2 separate regions of the Homo sapiens genome follow, and region 1 is linked to region 2. The links are contacts of gene promoters, found by promoter capture Hi-C in blood cells and fetal thymus (Javierre and others, 2016). All regions are on one chromosome and are shown on one strand. Each heading gives the region's core, a stretch centred on a gene start or on the middle of the fragment in contact. The rest is flanking DNA. Distances are from core to core; before and after follow the strand shown.

Region 1 (4,457 bases), core at 97-2,596, 190 kb after region 2:
AACTCTATTTTTTTTTAAATTTTGTTCTGAAATATTTTAGAGTTTAAAAAACACAAAAGAACAATACAATGAGCATACTTGTACTTAGCATACTTGTACTTAATACCATTATAACACAAATCCTGATCATGTCTGCCTTCTCCCCTTCATCCCATTGCTCCAGAGGCCAATTAAACAATTTAAACTATATACATATATTAAAACAGTAAATAATAATATTTCTGAAACAAGATTTATAACTGGGATGAGCTTTAAATGCAAAGGAAGTATGTATCTACTTAGATCCTATAAGTTCCTCAGCTATGCCATATAAATTTTGTTTAGGATATGGACAAGGAAGATTTAGAAAGGTGTATCGATTGAGGAGTTAACATTTGGGAAGAAAGGGAAGAAAATTTTAATAATTGGTAGAAGAAAAGGGGAGGACAAGTGAGGGAGGACATTGCTGTAACTAAGACTGTTCCTTCATCTAAAAGTAGCCCAAGTAAAGAAGAATATATTGAAATTAATCCAAAAGGCTCTCACTAACTATATTCTCACTTCTGATGTTAATTTTGGCCTTCATCATCCATGACCTCTATGACTCTTCATCTTCCCAGTCAGCTGTCTTGTCCATGAGACCCTCCATCCCATCTTCCATAGCTGTCTACATATGTATTTTGTTCCAGTCAGGCCAGATTTCCTGCAGCTTATTTCTGCTGTGTTACCTCCTTCCCATGGCCTCTTTGCACTCATACTTCTTCTTCCTTCCTCTGTAAATCCAAATTCTACACATTCTCCAAAACCCAGAGCAAGCCCTAGTGCAAGCCCCAGTGCAGGCTGTATTTAACTTGCATAAAACCTCAAGGCCACACTCATAAGCAATGATCTGCCTTTGGCCCTTCTTAGTCTTTACAATCTGCACTGTGTATTTGCCCACTTGCCTCCTTTTTGTCCTACATTAATTTCTGTATGTGTCTGAATTCTCCAACAAGATTGCATTCACAGGGGCAGGCAAACAGTAGGAATTCAATAAACATTTGAAGTTTATCTTAGTTAATAAGGGTAATCTGACTCCTGATTCATTTGTCTTTTTATGATAACATCCTACCAAGATATTCTGAGATTGCCTTCAAAAGAAAACTTTGCAAGGAAAAAAAAATAACTTGGAGGCTCACTTCCCAGTATATTCAATTCAGTAATAAGCACTAACTGTGTTTACTAAACAATTGCAGGCCAAGATTACAAAATCAGCTCAGTCAAAAAAAAAAAAAAAAAAAAGCAAATCATGACACACTTTATGGCAAGTGTCCCTTTCTGTTATTAATTAAATGATGATACAAGCCAATTCATGCCACGTCTCACTATTATTTTCTAAATTCTGTGCTAACAGAACCGGCTTCAGCTGAAGAAAGAGAGGAATGAAGCGCCTTCTGCTTCTGTTTTTGTTCTTTATAACATTTTCTTCTGCATTTCCCTTAGTCCGGATGACGGAAAATGAAGAAAATATGCAACTGGCTCAGGTACTGTCTTAATAAATGATATCGATGACTATTGATAAAAAGCTTATTTTATTGATTCTCTTGGGACCTAAAAAGAAAACACATTCCTGCAAAAGAGTCCTGAACTTTTTTGTGAGAAGGAACTGCTTTTCATTTGTCTATCTCTGACGATATCAGGAAATTGTGTTGGGGAGGAGGGCTGGCACAGGGAGGGGGAAAGGATCTGCTATAACTTTTAGCAATGGTCACAAATGAAGGGATGTTTAGTGCGAGGAGAAAGGAGAGAGCCCTGCAAGGTATGGAGATCACTATAAAAGCATTTCAAGACAACCAGGAGGACCCAATCTACAATTTGGAGCCCTAATCCCTATATGTATGAAAAAAAATACATTGCTTTACAGATTCCCTCTAAAAATCAGTTCAGTTAACTTTTTATTTTTGGTTAAAGCAAATACATGTGCAAAATGGATAATCACTTATTTATCCTAGAACTTGTTTCAAAGAAACACCAAAATGAAAGTAACAGCAAAAATATGTAAGATAGGTCATCATTCAACAGACAGACGAAGCTTCATTCTCTTCTGTGGAGGTTTAAGAGCTGCGTGCTTTGGCTAATTCTGGTCACTCATAAGTCAACCAAGTCTTGGAAATTGAAAGAGCAGGGTGACTCGTTATTTTCCTCTTTGTGTCCTTCCTTTCTTCTTTCCTCCTTCACTCCTCACTTTCTCTCATTACTTCTTTTTTTTCCCCTTTCCTATTGCCAGAAGGAATTTTAGGCAATTTTGCTTTATCCTGAGATGGAGATTTGCTCTCCTGTAGTCTGTGCCTCTTTTTTTTTTTTCTTATCTTTTTGGTCAGGCATATCTCAACCAGTTCTACTCTCTTGAAATAGAAGGGAATCATCTTGTTCAAAGCAAGAATAGGAGTCTCATAGATGACAAAATTCGGGAAATGCAAGCATTTTTTGGATTGACAGTGACTGGAAAACTGGACTCAAACACCCTTGAGATCATGAAGACACCCAGGTGTGGGGTGCCTGATGTGGGCCAGTATGGCTACACCCTCCCTGGGTGGAGAAAATACAACCTCACCTACAGGTAATGCTTCTGCCAGCTTATTTCCGCCTAATCCAAAGGAACATAAAGATAATTTCCAAGGAACAGAATAATATTCATTCAATTGACTGAGCACTTCCTGTGTGCACAGCACATCTTAGGCTCCATTTACGGTATCTTCCCAACAAACCTGTGCTGTAGGCTCTGCTGCTACCACCATCTTAAATACAGAGAAACTGAAACAAAAGTTTATTTACCGTGGCTGAGGTTACACAGCTCTTACTGGCTCCAGCAGACATGCTCTCATCTCTAGCCTCTGCCACCATCATATAAGCTCCCAACAAATACTGTCATCTGACTGCAGATACTTGACAGCATGAATGAAGGGTGCCCAAGAGAAAATGGGGAGACCCTGGAACACAACCAGTTTATGTCAGAGACATGTGTGTGTGAGAGAGAGAGTTGCCAAATCTCAGATGAGCCCCTCAGAGCAAAGTAGGGTGTTTCCCTCAGACATCTCAAGGAAAAGGGGGCAGGCTGACTCATTGGCAGGAAGAGGATGAGGTATGCCTTTGATCTGAGACAGAGACAGTCACCTTGACCATCACTCTACAGCCTTTCTGATAGTTCTTCTTTCATCTTACTGAGTGCTAGGACTTGAGATAAAAATGAATTTAGCAAGATAGGCAACATAAACGAGAAAAATCTTTTCCTGAGCAATTCTTGTGGTTCTCATGTAAGATTCTTAATATATGGACTGGGTGTGGTGGCTCATGCCTGTAATCCCAGCACTTTGGGAGGCTGAGGCAGACGGATCACCTGAGTTCAGGAGTTTGAGACCAGCCTGGCAAACGTGGCAAAACCCCATCTCTACTAAAAAACACAAAAATTAGCTGGGCCTGGTGGCACGCGCCTGTAGTCCCAGCTACTCAGGAGGCTGAGGCATGAGAATCACTTGAACCTGGGAGGCAGAGGTTGCAGTGAGCCGAGGTCGCGCCACTGCACTCCAGCCTGGGGGACAGAGCGAGACTCTGTCTCAAAAAAAAAAAAGTTCTTAATATATGGTACATGCACAAGACTGATTTCTACAAGCCATTCAAAAAAATGATTCTCAGTTCTTTTTAAGAATGTCTTTATAATACTTTCATATACAAGCCAACACGTACATGAGATAAATGCTGTCTTGGGATGTGATCTTAGTGAAGTCATTTAACCTCTTTCAGCCTCCTTTGTTGAAGTGTTAATACTACTGATTCATAGGGAAGATAAAGGAATTTAATTCTATAGTATATGTAAGAGTATTTCATTTAAATAAAGTGCTAATGCAACTGTAAGATAATTGCACCACACCAAAGTTACTGCAGCACATTATTGATAAGCTAGAAATGTTTTTTGTAGTTATGTGTGTATATTCATGCATGAATAAGCCAGAAATTGACATATTTTTGTTAATTTTTAAGAATAATAAACTATACTCCGGATATGGCACGAGCTGCTGTGGATGAGGCTATCCAAGAAGGTTTAGAAGTGTGGAGCAAAGTCACTCCACTAAAATTCACCAAGATTTCAAAGGGGATTGCAGACATCATGATTGCCTTTAGGACTCGAGGTAAGGTTTTCAACAGAGAGCAAAGCTATTTTTATCTCAGGAGATTTGAGGAAGCTGATCTTTTTTCCTCGCATAAATTGTATCTCAGTCCATGGTCGGTGTCCTCGCTATTTTGATGGTCCCTTGGGAGTGCTTGGCCATGCCTTTCCTCCTGGTCCGGGTCTGGGTGGTGACACTCATTTTGATGAGGATGAAAACTGGACCAAGGATGGAGCAGGTGAGTCTAATTTTCTTTATGAACAAAATCTTATTATTCTAAAGAATCCCTGAAAAGAATAGCTTTGTAACTAGCTGCTTTTTAACTGTAAAGTT
Region 2 (4,860 bases), core at 1,124-3,623:
ACTTGGAGGTGGAGGCTGCAGTGACCAAGATCATGCCACTGCACTCCAGCTGAGGCAACAGAGTATATTAGTCAATTTTCCCACTGCTGATAAAGACGTGGACTTATAGTTCCACTTGGCTGGGGAGACCTCATAAATATGGTGGAAGGTGAAAGGCACGTCTCATATGGCAGCAGACAAAAGAAGAAGAACTTGTGCAGGGAAACTCCCCTTTTTAAAACCATCAGATCTTGTGAGACACATTCACTATCAGGAGACCAGTGCAGGAAAGACTCACCCCCATAATTCAATCACCTCCCACCGGGTTCCTCCCATGACACATAGGAATTGTTAGAGTTACAATTCAAGATGAGATTTGGGTGGGGACACAGCTAAACCATATCACACAGTGAGACTCTGTCTCAAAAAAAGAAAAAAAATCAACTCTGCCTTTGGAGAAAGAAAGCAGCCATAGATGATATATAATTGAATGCATATGACTGTGTTTCAATAAAATTTTATTTGTAGATACTGATATTTGAATTTCATATAGTTTTCATGTGTCTCTGTGTATTACTTTTATTTCATTTTTCAACCATTTAAAAATGGAACCTGGGTCAGTGACATGTGCTGTCATCCCAGTACTCAAGAAACTGAGGCATGAAGATCACTTGAGCCCAATAGTTTGAGACCAGCTTAGGCAATATGGTGAGACCTTGTCTTAAAAAAAAAAAAACCAACAACAATAAAATAAAATAAAAGTGGAAGGAAGGGCCATTTTTAGCTTGCAGGCTGGATTTGGTCTGTGGCCCATAACTTGTCAAGCCATGTCCTTCTATGGGGTTTACAGTTCATATAATTCTTTACTAAGTCATTTGCAGTCTAAATTGTTATTTTTTATATCTAGGTCTTGTGTCTTTAATTGGGTTGTGAGTTTTCTGAGGGAAGGCACCTCATACTTGTTTGTAAATGCTCTAAAGACCAAGTTCATTGGTGAAAAGCAAGTGTGATAAATGTTGATTAGAAGAATCAGTTTTGCCCACGATGATCTTGGTCACAGGGAGCTGTAGATGGTTGGAGGAGATTGGTGCTTCTAGTATGTGGAAGATCTAGGCAGAAACAGTGGGAACAGAAGACTCAGGAAAATCCTTGAAAGACAGCCAGAAAATAGAGTTGGATTCAATATTGAACTTTAAGATAGAGAGAAACTAGGAAGTAGATGTCTCTTTTTCATCCAAGCCATGAAATCAAAGTGAAGTCAGGCAGTAAAAACCAAACTCCTGGGCAGCTGCGTTTCTGCAATGCTCTAGTATATCTTTCTGGATCAAAATATTCACAAGGGAATTACTGAGCATTTCTACAACTGGTCCTTTGGCTAAAGTGCATCTTCCTACCTTTGACCTCGTGCTCCAATCGACTTTTCAAAACGCAATTTGGGATTCATCATTTCCAAAAAGCCTTTCCCACTTTCCACTTCATCCCCATCCCAACACGGATACAAACACACACACACACATACTGCCTTGAGCAGGCCTCCTCTAGTGCAGGGATAGTTACTCTCTTTCTGTTTACTGTGCCTCAGACAGTGGCTGGTGCCCTGCAGGTAATCAATGAGTTTTTTTTGTTGGTGTTTTTTTTTTTTTTTTTTTTTTTTGAGGTGGTGTCTCACTCTATTACCCAGGCTGGAGTGCAGTGGCATAATCTCAGCTCACTACAACCTCCACCTCCTGGGCTCAAGTGATTCCCCCACCTCAGCCTCCTGAGTAGCTGGGACTACAGGAACATGCCACCACACTCAGCTTTTTGTAGAGATGGGGTTTCACTATGTTGTTAAGGGTGGTCTCAAACTCCTGGGCTCAAGTGATCCACCAGCCTCGGCCTCCCAAAGTGTTAGGATTACAGGTGTGAACCACCTGGCCCTTTTTTTTAAATGCAGTTTTAAAATAGAACTTCTTCAAATCCAGCCATTCAGAGAAGCACCTAGTTTTTACTATATTTTTATCTTTGTTGCCTAGGAGCAGGGAAAGAGGGAAAAAGGGAAAAAAAACTAAAGGCAGGCTGTAGCGCAAATCCTCTGTAGATCCTTCCTTTAAATGCTAGAGCAGTGGTCCCCAAACTGCCATTGCTGGACTCCACCTCTAGAGTTTCTGATTCAAGAAGTCTGGGAAAGAAACCAACATTTTGCATTCCTAACAAATTCCTAGGAAAGGCTGATGCTGCTGGTCTGGGACCACACTTTGAGAAACAGTGCTCTAGAACCTGAGCTCTACTACTGCCCTATACCATGAAGAAGTTTGGGAAGCTTGTCTTCTGACTTGGTGGCTTCCATTCCTATCATGTACATTTCCTCTCCAACCTCAGATTTCTGATGTTTCCTCTCAGCCCCACATTATCATTGTTCTCTAGCTAGGTTGCTTTCAAACACCAAAAAGAAAAAGCACATGAGAAGGTTTCATATTGAAGTAAAAATAAATGGTAAAGCTTTCTTTTACATCAAAAAATCAACCTTTAAAAGGGAGTACAGGCCAGGCATAGTAACTTGCACCTGTAATCCCAAATCCCTTTGGGAGCCTAAGACTGGAGGATCGCTTGAGCCCAGAAGTTTGAGATCAGCCTGGGCAATATAGTGAGACTCCACTTCTATAAAAAATAAAATGTAAAACTATAATTTTTTTAAAAACAGGGAGTACACTTGTGTAAGCTAATAAAATGGAACTCCAGGAAGAGAGCTTCAGAGTTTATCTAGGTGAAAAAGAAGCTTTGCCCACAGGAAATTACACAATCCAACCCACATCCACCACTTGGGGATACATCCATCTCAGGGCAGGTATTAAGGTATTAAAACCCTGCCTGGATCATAATTTTAAGTCACTATCATTTGAAACAGCACATCTTGAGTTTTGCTTTTTGTAGGTGTGTGGTGATAGCTGGGACCACAGGCAGATATAAAGCAAAGTCACAATTCCTAGGAGCATGAAAAGCAGGGAGATGGGACTGTGGCTGGGAGATGGGACTGTGGCTGGGAGTATCTGAGAGGTGGAGGGAGGTTAAGATCTGGAGAGATCAAGGGGTACAGAGGAAGAAAAATTCTTTGTCAGGAAGAAGTAACTACAGCAGCAAAGTCAGAGGGATAGGAATAGAAGGCTGGCAGTGTTGGTTGCAGGGAACTGTGGGAGAAGAGGCAAGAAAAGGAGGAAGGGGGCAGATGGTAAGGACTTTGACAAGTGAAGAAATTTGACCTTGATAAATTGGGTTCTGACTGTATCTTACACAGTCTCCGCAAGGTGACCAGAATGACGTTTCTAAACGCAAATATGACCATGCCTTGCCTCTACTTAAATTCTTCAGTGGTTCCCAGTGCTGTCAAGACTGAATTGGAACTCCTTAGCAGAATCTGGGCTCCTGCATTCCTCTGCAGTTCCCACTCCAGAAACATCCTTGACCCATATCTCTCTCTCTCTCACACACACACAAACACCTCTGCGCTTCAGTTGTGTCACCCTAATCCTCCTGGGCGTTGCACACTCTCTCACTTCTGTGGGCTTCAACTTCCTCACCCTCTGCCTTCCCTCACACTCTCACCTGATTTAAGATTCTCTTTGATTTATTCTAGGATTCAGAAGAAGGGTGTAGCCGGGTGTGGTGGGGCTCGTCTGTGGTCCCAGCTACTCAAGAGGCTGAGGTGGGAGGATTACATGAGCCCAGAAGGTTGAGGCTGCATGAGCTATGGTCACACCACTGCACTCCAGCCTAGGCAACACAGTGAGCCCTGTCTCCAAAAAGAAAAAAAAAAGAAAAGGGTGTGTTCCCCACCTGTGTCCCTTCTGGGATCCATAACTCTGCATGGTCATTCATGTAAAGCCCCTTGTGCAGCAAACAGAGGATACATCTTTATCAGTTGATTGTCATTATCTGTTTCATTCTCTGTCTCCCCTCTTACACTGTGAGCGCCCTGAAAACAAGAATTGCATCCCTAGCACCTAAAACAATGCCTGACACACAGGCGGGAAATATTTGTGGAATTAACTTTGAAACAATGATATTATTTTTTAAAAAAATGTATTGGAATTTTGAAATAAAAATTAATCTATAAATTCAGAAAATACAGAAAAATACAAAGGAGCAAGTAAAAATCCCTTGTAATTGCTCTGCTCTGAGATAACCCCTTTCAGTTTATTTTGAGAATATTTGAGAATTTTTGAGAAAAGGAACACTATGTAAAAAATGGAACATAGGAAAAAAATTCTGACAACTGTGTGTCTCACAGAGAATGGAATTAAAAGACTAATTAGGACATTTAAGACTCAAGGTATGAGATGTTAAACTTATGGACTAGATGGGATTAGAAAAAGAATGAAGATGAGTGTGATAAGTAGTACATGAAATAACAAGACTTCAAAATTGATTAAAAGTGGTGGTGGGAGGGGAATAGAGTAAAGGAAGAGTATCAGGTGACCCTAAAAGTTAACAAAATGTTTGTTAAGTACATGAAAGAGTTGGAGATTGGATGAGTGGAAGTATTCTTCACTCTCTCTATCAAATATCTACTGGGCACATACTGCATCTAGGCACTGGTCTAGGTACTGGGATACGTCAATGAACAAAACAGCACAACCCATAACCCTTCTGGAGTTTCAGTTATGGTGGTGAAAATTATGGTACCAGTTAGAGAAATAGGCAGATTTAGACTGGGAGATAAATTTAAACAGTTCTTTAAAGCGTTTTGAAAGAGGCCGTGTCTTCCTTTAATTCCCTGAACGTATGTGTAGACTGAAATGGGTAAAGCATATTCAGAGCTGCCACACCGTAACGAGATGGGATCTTTCTGTCCAGCAAAGAGAGAAGACAGGTTGCGGGAGAGAGGGGAGTAGAAACCCCTAA

The links. Contacts are between HindIII fragments. The CHiCAGO score rates a contact against its expected background, and 5 or more counts as called.
Region 1: the fragment with the promoter of MMP27 here is called in contact with a fragment that was not itself captured in region 2 in 1 of 17 cell types (M1 macrophages); the score reaches 5.8 in M1 macrophages.

Annotation. Positions count from the first base shown.
Region 1 is chr11:102,702,658-102,707,114 of GRCh38, reverse strand. MMP27 (matrix metallopeptidase 27) reads left to right here and starts at 1,346. Exons shown (of 10, transcript NM_022122.3): 1 at 1,346-1,502; 2 at 2,340-2,578; 3 at 3,997-4,145; 4 at 4,234-4,362. The coding sequence starts at 1,401. The HindIII fragment of the contact is 3,149 bases long and covers 1-1,546 here.
Region 2 is chr11:102,889,215-102,894,074 of GRCh38, reverse strand. No RefSeq gene overlaps it. Among named protein-coding and RNA genes, the nearest start is that of MMP12, 17 kb to the right of the region's middle. The HindIII fragment of the contact is 179 bases long and covers 2,284-2,462 here.